Linked DNA regions of Homo sapiens: regions 1 and 2 are each linked to region 3. The links are contacts of gene promoters, found by promoter capture Hi-C in blood cells and fetal thymus (Javierre and others, 2016). All regions are on one chromosome and are shown on one strand. Each heading gives the region's core, a stretch centred on a gene start or on the middle of the fragment in contact. The rest is flanking DNA. Distances are from core to core; before and after follow the strand shown. Region 1 overlaps CRMP1 (collapsin response mediator protein 1). Region 2 overlaps EVC (EvC ciliary complex subunit 1). Region 3 holds the start of TMEM128 (transmembrane protein 128).

Region 1 (3,099 bases), core at 198-2,697, 1.6 Mb before region 3:
AAATTAGATGTTGACCTGATCCCTCCTGACTTTCTTAAGGTCTCAGGGCAGTGTATCTGTGATTTGGTGAGATGGCCACATGAGGGCAGGCACGCACACGTTGAGAAAGTTGAACTGGAATTTTGTCCTGCAAACTCTTTGAGGCGTTGCATGGGTTGCACACCGTGCTGGGTACTAAGAGTATGGTGATTTTTTTTCTTAGAAGGCCGGATAGTAAATACTTTAGGCTTTGTAAGCTAAGAGGCAACATCTAGGATGTCAACATCTAGGATGTTATATTCAATAGCCATTTGAAAATGTACAAACTATTCTCAGGTCATGGATCGTACAGAAACAGGCGGTGGGCCGGATTTGGTCAATGGACCCGTTTGCTAATTCCTGGTCAGGAAAGGCGATATGCTTAGCAAAAGAGAGAGTGGAAGGGGCAAAGAGAGAGAGAGAGAGAGGATGACGTGTGAATTCAGATTGTGTGGTGGCAGAACCTCTTATCCATTCAGGAAGTGTCTGATTCAGTGATTATGCCGAGGAGGCATGAATCAAGGAGGCCTCCCCATTCATCTCACTCTCCATAAGACTTTGATGGAAGAGCTTCCAGTGTTTCATATTTTTGCACAAAATGGACCCTAAATAGAATGCTAAAAGTCATGTGATGCTCAATCAGCAAACCAGGGATTGGCTTCATCCTGGGAAAAAGCTATCTGGGTGCAACAAGACACAAGCTCTCAAGGAGTTTGCAAACTGGACCACTGTTCTGGAGTTATGCAATTAAACACTGCACAATTGCAATTAAACATGGACAGAAAATCCTCCTCCCCGTTGTTCTTAGAACAAGAATAACAATGAAGTTAAAAGCCACCTGGAAGGGCCCCTCCTCACCCTTGTTCTCTCAGTTTCACTCTTAGTCCTCCTGAGGCCCACAGCACCACTGCTGTCAGCCAGCCTCTTGGCAGGTTGATAGGTGACTTCATTTGGTACCAACAACACAGATGCTTTCCAACATCATAACAACCTCACAGATGCCCTTTTTAATATCTGCGTATGTTACGTTATAGAGCTGTACCATGAGTTAGTGTCTGTTTTCGTCCATTTACATTGCTATAAAGGATTACCTGAGGCTGGGTAATTAAAGAGGTTTACTTGGCTCACGGCTCTGCAGGCTGTACAAGCAGCACGGTGCCAGCGTCTGCTTCTGGTGAGGGCCTCAGGCTACTTCCAGCATGGCAGAAGGCGAAGGAGAGCTAGCGTGTGCAGAGATCACATGGCAACAGAGGAAGAAGGCAGAGGTGCTCTTTAACAACCAGTTCTTCCGAGAGCTAATAGAGCAAGAATTTACTCATTACTGTAAGGCTGACACCAAGCCATTCATGAGTGGTCTGTCCTTCATGACCCAAACCCCTCCCATTAGGCCCCACCTCCAACTTTGGGATCAAATTTCAACACGAAGTTTTGGGGGACAAAAGTCCAAACCATATTAGTGTCCTTTTTTCCAGCAGGTATTTTCAAAGTACAGACATGCAACCAGCAAGGTACAGATGGTTGTAAGGAAAAAGTTACTAAGTGCTAGGCCTGATTCCAGGCCTTTAGGGGAGACTTGTATTGCAAGAAGACATATTGTCTACCAGTGAAACAATGGGAGAAAAGAAAAGTCACTACTGTGAACCAAATTCTTAGTGGCTTACATAGACAAATCATGTAATGTTGGAGTTGGAAGGGGCTCATCTAGTCTACTGTTCTTATTGTGCAGAAAAGGAAATGAGGCCAAGGGAGTGGGGTGGTGTCTTACTCCAAATTGCCCAAATTCAAGGCATGATTAGCACTGAAACTTGAGTCTCCTTCCTGTTGCAGGTGACAACTACCTGGGGCCAGTGTTCTGCAGCTAGTAAAAAAAATTCACCAAGACAGTTGTCGGTAAAGAAAGTCAGATGTATTAGAAAAAGTATGAAAGGGTACAGTGGGTAGGTCAGCAAGAAAGGAGCCGACTGCAAGGAAACAAAGGCTTGCTGGAGATTTTATAGGATGGTGCTTGTGCTGTGTGCCGAAGAGGGCTTTGTGCAGTACTGATAATGCTGTGGTTGCAGTGAGCTAACTTACTTACGTTTTTCTGTTAGCTGAGGATCTGGTGATAAGTTGAGTACAGGAAGGCTGTGTTGTAGACCATGAAGAAAGGCAGACTTACAGCTTATTTGCTTTCTCTTTTTGATTTTCCTCAGTTCCGCCGGCTCAACTTCCCCTCCCTGATAAGGACTCTATCCTTCCCACCTTTCAGCATTATCCACCCTTCATGATTTACTCATTTAATAAATATTTGTTGAGCTCCAGGCACTGGGTTTGCTGCTAGAATTTTACATCTTTATGCAAGAGAATAGGTAAAAGTAGAATGGATGGTTGGTTTTGAAAGATTAAAATTAAGAACCTCTGCACACCACCCCCCCCCCCTTCAGATCCACCTATCGCCAATGAGGGAAGTAAATCCAGCTTGCGGAGTTCACATGCACATGCACACACATATGCACATGCATATACAAATGTGTACACACACAATATGTAAAATACCTTTGGAGTGTGGGACAGTGTGCCTAAGATCATGGGCTTTGAAAACCAACCAGTTTGGGCTTCAATCCTGGCTTCCCCACCCAACACCTGTGTCCCGCAAGACACGTGGCCTGAACCTCAAATTGCTCACCCGTAAGTTGGGAGTACAAACACCCCCTTCATAGTATGATTGTGTGCCCTAAATGCAGTAACATGTTAAAGCACCAAATGTGCGCCTGCACACAGTAGGCACTCAGTAAGTGTTTGATCACCTGTCTCAGGAATGTCGGATTTTACTGGGGATTTTGACAAGAACACCACAAGGTGGTCAGGGCTGAAGGTGGGGGGAGCCCAGGGACTGAGGGGCACAGAAGAGGGAGCAGTGGACTCTGTGGAGGCCAGGGAGGCTTCCCATGGCTGGTCCTGGACTGAGCCCTGAATGAAGGTGGGTCCAGTGGAGTGCATGGCAGAGTACATGGCCTCCAGGAGCAGCGTGGAACTGATGCTAACAGATCCCATCCAGCAGCGATTGGCGCTCTCTTTCAGGTGCCCAGATAGATGACAACA
Region 2 (3,168 bases), core at 669-3,168, 1.6 Mb before region 3:
CAGAGAGGTGGGGGCCTCCCTCAGGACACACGTCTGTGAAGTGGCGGAGCAGAAGGTGGCATCTTCTCATGAGAAAACAATCTTTTCCCCAGGGAGGAGCATTCTCCTGAAAGGACCAGAGGCCTACCGGCTACCCATCCCTGAGTTTAAATCTCAGAACTGCCCCGGCCCCTCCCTCGTAAAATGAGAAGCTTCTTGGGATGCAGCCTCTGGGAAATCCCGAATACGGCAGGCAGCCTGTTACTCTCAGAGAGGGGGACAGAGCTGGAGCAGAGGCCGGGTACCTGAGCCCCAGGGCCCACCTCCCTCTCTGGATGCCCTCCGTTCCTAAGCAGTCAGGAACATCCAAATCCAGCCACCCTGTTTCCATTATTGCTCCCTGCCTGCCTCCTTCCCATCTTTTAGGGCAGATTTTCTGAAAGGGGTCGAATTTCTAGACCTGAAGTCAGGGCCACCTTTAGCATGGATAGGCAGCTGTGCGTGTGGAGTGCTCCGAGGTGTGAAAATGCCACCCTGCTCCTACCTCACACTCTTCTGTCCGCCAGTAACACCTTTCCTCTCTGTTTTTGCCCAGCAAATTCCTGTGCACCCTACAAGACGCTGTCATCCATCCCTCCACCTCTCACTCCATTCCTCCCTCCCTCCATCCATCCACTCATTCCTTCATTAAAGTATCTCTGGCCTGCCAGGTGCTGTGCTGGGTTCTGAGACAAAGGTGTGAACAGAGACCCACAGTCCCCGTCCTCAAGGAGCTCTAGTTTGAGTGGCAGGAAGGAGGGTGGACAGTAAACAAATCACTCATTTGGCACAGCTGAGGCCAGCACTCCAGACTCCAGCCTCTCTCACACCTTAAAGGAGGCCGAGTTCCACTAGAAACCGTGCCTATGGACATGAATAGACGTTCTTAAAAAAAAGACACACAAATGGCCAAGAAGCATGTGAAAAAACTCTGAGCATCACCCATCATCAGAGGAATGCAAGTTAAAGCCACAAGGAGATATCATCTTACCCCAGTTAGAATGGCTATCACTAAAAAGACAAACTATAACACTTGGTGAGGATGTGGAGAAAAGGGAACACTTATGCACCATTGGTGGGAATGTATATTAGTGCAGCCTGTATGGAAAACAGCATGATTTCTCAAAGAACTAAAAATAGAATGACCATTTGATCCAGCAATCCCACTACTGGGTATCTACCCAAAGGAAAATAAATCAGTATATCAGAAAGATACCTGCTCTCGTGTGTTCATTGCATTATTCACAATAGCAAAGATATGGAATCAACCTAAGTGTCCATCAATGGAGGACTGGATAAGGAAAATGTGGTCCATATACACAATGGAATACTACTCAGCCATAAAAAAGAATGAAATCATGTCTTTTACAGCAACGTGGATGGAACTGGAGGCCATTTTCTTAAGTGAAACAACTCAGAAACAGAAATATCTCATATTTTCAGTTATGAGTGGGAGCTCAATAATGTGTGCACATGGACACAGCGAGTAGAATGACAGGCTGGGCGCAGTGGCTCACACCTGTAATCCCAGCACCGAGAGGCCAAGGCGGGTGAATCACCTGAGGTCAGGAGTTTGAGACCGGCCTGGCCAACATGGTAAAACCCCATCTCTACTAAAAATACAAAAAAATTAGCTGGGCATGGTGGTGCGCGCCTGTAATCCCAGCTACTCGGGAGACTGAGGCAAGAGAATCGCTTGAACCCGGGAGGCGGAGGTTGCAGTGAGCTGAGATTGCACCACTGCATTCCAGCCTGGGCAACAGAGCAAGACTCTGTCTCAAAAAAAAAAAAGAGAGTGGAAGGATGGACAACAGAGACACAGAAGGGCGGCGGGACGATGGGAGGGGAGTGGATGATGAGAAATTAATGGGTAAAACGTACACTATTTGGGTGATGGTTACAATAAAGGCTCAGACTTCACCACTATTCAATATAGCTATGTCACAAAATTGTACTGTCACTCCTTCAAAAAAAAAAAAAAAAAAGAAAAGAAACTGCCTCTGAATTCAAGGAGGTGTGACAGGGAGGGAAGGGCATCAACAGCCACATATAAGCTGTGAGTCACAGATGGGCTCATGCACCCCCTTTCCCAACACTGGGCTTCCTTTTCCTCTTCCATAAAGCAGGTTGGCCCAGCTGGCTGCTGAGGCTCCTTCTCTTGGATCACCTGGGTCAAAGTGAAGCCCTTGGACCACATCTATCAGTATCCCTTGGTGCGGAGAGGTGCGGCTAAAATTCAGATTCTTGGGCTCTCCTCACACTTTCTGAGCCTGAGTCTCCAGGTGTGGGCCCAGAACCTGCAAGTTTCGCAGGAAAGCCGAGTGATGCTTCTGCGCCCCACATCTGAGGACTTGCCAGACTGTAGTTTGCTGGGAGCCTGGAAAGTTAGGGCAAGTTCGGTCTGTGCAAACCCTGCAGCAGGGCGTTTCCTGACACCTGTTACTGAGCAGCTTCCTAAGAACAGCCCGGTCGGCGGGCCCCTTCGCTCAGGCCTTGTGAGGCACAGAGAAGCCAGGAGAGCCAAGCCTGCCTTCTGACCTCCAGCACTGTGGGACAGGCAGTCTACATGGCTTGGGCTGTTACATTTGCACTCATTGTGATGGTCACAGTTACAGGAAGCAGCCACCTCTTCCTCACTTCCCTGCCCTCTCACTGTGCCTCTGCGGGTCACCTCCCAGGTAAACAACCTGCCCCCAAATCCTCGTCAAGGTCTGCTTCTGAGAATGCCCAAAGTATGAGAGGGTAGGCGCGTGTCTAAACATGGCTTAGACCTGTGTCCGGGCTGTGAATGCCACTTAAACCTGGGAATGAAGCTGCCACCACACCATGACCTGCTCACTCATTTGTGCCAGGTGCCACTCCAGGTGCTGCATGGAGGGCAGAGACCAGGACAGAGGCAGCGGGTGAGGAAGGCCGATGGCCCCCAAGTCCACGGGCAATGCACGCGACGGCACCTGCTGACGGCACCACAGAGAGATATGCCATGTGAATGGGGTAGAGAACAGCCCTACGTGGGACCTCAGTTGGGACCTCACCTCTGGTGGACCGCCTGGGAGGTCTCATGAGCGCCACCTGCCGTCCTGCTGCCCGACGAAGGGTTGCTGAGTTCTTGCTTTTTCCGCAGTTTGTAATTTTCCATCCTCTCACCTA
Region 3 (3,183 bases), core at 54-2,553:
CCACCGCGCGCGGCTGGCACTCTTTTCTTGAGTATTTCTTATTACATTCCTTTTACAAACACCCCAACACATCGAAGATATTAAACAGTGCCTACTAATTCAAATTTTACTTCCTATGTAGCTGGCTCTCCACCCCTGTATTCAACTCACCTGAAACCACTCTCCCTGCTCTCCCACACTGCAGCAGAATAAACTGCCCTTTATATGTACAGTGTTTCTATTATGCCCCATGTACAGTGTTTTTATTATGGCACTGTATTGAAGCTGCTTCCTCTACTAGATTCTTCTGTCCTCACCATTTTATCACATGCAGCTGCTCAGAAAATGTTGGCTGCATTGATGAAATGCTTTCATACATTTACAAATAGAGTTTTCTTGTAATATACCTCTGTGGTTTTCTTTGGACAAGGAGCTCCTCACGTGCAAGGCCATGTCTTACTCATCTTTATCTCCACTGCTAGCATGGTGCCTAACAGCTCCTACCAAATAGTAGATGCTCAGTAAACGTTTGCGTGGCTAAGCCCACCATTTCTCAGCACATGACACGCTGGGAAACGGCTGGGAGAGTAATACGCGGGATTATTGACGAAGAAAAAGTTGTGAACTCGTAACACACAGTTTGTGGGCGTGAGCAGTGTGGAAAACCGCAGTTTGCTGGGAAAGCAATTTAGTTCCCTCGGTTCAGGCTGGGAGGATTTTTCACAAGTGGCGAGGAGGAGGCTCACATGAACCACATACAGGTACTTCTCACTGAAACGCACAACAAATCTAGAGCCAAGTGTAATAACGAAACGGGCCCCAAGAAGTTTATTTAATGCCCAGGGCCCCCAAGTGGTCACTGCCAGGCTCTAGCATCCTGTCCAGCAGGCCTTTCTCCTCCTTTCAAGTCTTGCTGGACGACTCCTGAAAAGCAAAAGTAGGAAAAAAACTGGGGGCTGAGAGTGGAAGGCTGGACAGAGGGTATGTCTCCTGCTCTGGCACCCGGAAGCCTGCGAGGGCTTCGGAAGCGCAGCGTCTCACGGTCGCGCATCCCGGCCCTGGACGCATCCAGCGGCAGCGGTAATCCTGGTCCTCCTGGGCTTCCGTAGGTCGGAATAAACTTGGGAACTCTTCCACCGGCAAAGCTCAGTGTTTTAAAATTCAAATCACACTTGCCGACATGAGAGCGGAACCTTTGAGGCCGACTCCACCCTAGCTGCTCGCTAACTAAACAGCGAAGAGAACACAGTCTCCAATCCAAACGCCAGGAGGTCCAGACCCGGAGCGGACGCCGGAAGCGCTGTGTCTGACGTCACTTCCGTCGCATTTCGGGGCGGTACCAAGATGGACTCCTCGCGGGCCCGGCAGCAGCTCCGGCGGCGATTCCTCCTCCTGCCGGACGCCGAGGCCCAGCTGGACCGCGAGGGTGACGCCGGGCCGGGTGAGGCGCGCACCAAGCCGCCCCGAGGTTCTCAGAGGCGAGGCGTCGGAAAACGGCCGGCCTCCGGCAGCCCTGGCCCAGTCTGGAAGGACTGAGTTTCGGCTTTGCAAGTCGAATATTTAATGTCAGGGAAGATCCTTAGAATCGCGGAGTGCTGTGCATCGTCATTTCAGCTGCGCTTCAGAATTCTCTGGAGAGCTGATTTGACACCTATTTGGAAATAGCGATTAAAATTAAAAATACCCACCAGTTTTAAGTCTTAAGGATTTACCAGAAACATGCGTGTACCGCAGTGTACAATGATGTGCGCAGTGTTTCACTTCAGGATTGCTTGTAATAGCGAATTACTGGAAATATCTGCCTTGCCCGTCAGCAGAAAGCTGTTTAAGTAAATTTGGGTATATGTATACCTGACACATCAGGTCGACTCGTATGTACCAATGGGGATGATTTTCAAAGGGAAGTGTGGAACACTATGGTATGCCGCCATTTGGGTACAAAACAGGTAACTTGTGATGTATGTTCACCTGTGAATGCATAGAATATGGAAGAATTCAGTAGAAATTGTAAGTGGTGGTTGCTTCTGGGGATTAGATCTGAGGTTAAGGATGGGAGACAGATACTTCATTTTGGATATTTTTTATCTCATATGTTTTAAAACCACGTCCATTTATTACCTTTTAAAATTAAAAACACGAATAACCTCATGCCCAGGCATGATGATGTATACATTTTGAGGATATCCCAGAATATTACGAACATGCTTCCCAGGGTTTCCGATGGTCATCTAAAGGCCCAAAACCTCAGATGTGGACCATTGATTCTCACGTGAACCTAGAGGGCATGTCAGAATCCCCGGAAAACTTAATAGAAATCATCCATCTGACCCAACCCCCATCCACCCATTCTTTCAGATTGCGTTCCAGACAGGAAAAATGTCTTGTCCATCACCTGTCTAGACAGTGCTGTGCTGGAACTAGAGCTCTGGTGTGCCGTTTCCACTTTTGAGCTGTGTTTAAAGTAACTAAAATATTTAGTTATAGGCTGGGCAGGGTAGCTCACGCCTGTAATCCCAGCACTTTGAGAGGCTGAGGCGGGCTGATCACGAGGTCAGGAGTTCGAGACCAACCTGGCCAAATAGAGCAGCCTGGCCAAGATGGTGAAACCCCGTCTCTACTAAAAATACAAAAATTAGCCCGGCGTGGTGGCAGGCGCCTGTAATCCCAGGTACTCGGGAGGCTGAGGCAGGAGAATTGCTTGAACCCGGGAGGCGGTGGTTGCAGTGAGCCGAGATCAAACCATTCCACTCCAACCCGGGCGACAGAGGAAGACTCCGACTCAAAAAAAAAAAATTTAGTTATAAAAGTGTTCTTGGAAGACCACAAGTCCAGTTCATGCGCTAATGTTTGCCTTTGGCATTTTTCCTAATTAACAAGACTAATTACTTTCCTAGAAGAAATGTGAAACATAATATTAAAATTCTTACATTTCCAGGTGACATTGTTATTTCCGAAAGACGATGAAAGTGTAAATTTGATTTCACAATGTATTTAGAGGAAATAAATTGACTGTATTGACCATATTTTATAGTGGGCTCTTATTTTTTGTAAATATAAACCTATCTCAAGGGTTTTACAGAAGGATTTGTTATCATGGGAGAGACTGTTTCTTAGCTCTAGGAAATGATTTTATTTGGCTTAAGTGTAATTTTTCCTCGCAAAATTGTGGTAACTTAATAAGTTGAAATCTCCCTTATTTGCAGA

Evidence for each region. The method cuts DNA at HindIII sites, captures the fragments that hold promoters and counts their contacts. A CHiCAGO score of 5 or more calls a contact.
Region 1: a fragment that was not itself captured here is called in contact with the fragment with the promoter of TMEM128 in region 3 in 2 of 17 cell types (naive B cells and total B cells); the score reaches 7.3 in naive B cells.
Region 2: a contact is called between a fragment that was not itself captured here and the fragment with the promoter of TMEM128 in region 3, in 1 of 17 cell types (naive B cells). The highest score is 12.3, in naive B cells.

The regions. Positions count from the first base shown.
Region 1 is chr4:5,821,831-5,824,929 of GRCh38, reverse strand. CRMP1 (collapsin response mediator protein 1) reads left to right here. Exons shown (of 14, transcript NM_001014809.3): 14 at 3,079-3,099. It also overlaps a transcript of EVC not described here. Among named protein-coding and RNA genes, the nearest start is that of CRMP1, 70 kb to the left of the region's middle. The HindIII fragment of the contact is 5,333 bases long and covers 1-3,099 here.
Region 2 is chr4:5,804,727-5,807,894 of GRCh38, reverse strand. EVC (EvC ciliary complex subunit 1) reads right to left here. Exons shown (of 21, transcript NM_153717.3): 17 at 3,054-3,165. Among named protein-coding and RNA genes, the nearest start is that of CRMP1, 87 kb to the left of the region's middle. The HindIII fragment of the contact is 3,449 bases long and covers 194-3,168 here.
Region 3 is chr4:4,246,343-4,249,525 of GRCh38, reverse strand. TMEM128 (transmembrane protein 128) reads left to right here and starts at 1,303. Exons shown (of 5, transcript NM_001297551.2): 1 at 1,303-1,420; 2 at 3,183. The coding sequence starts at 1,324. RefSeq lists enhancers at 923-1,032, 1,335-1,961. The HindIII fragment of the contact is 7,732 bases long and covers 1-3,183 here.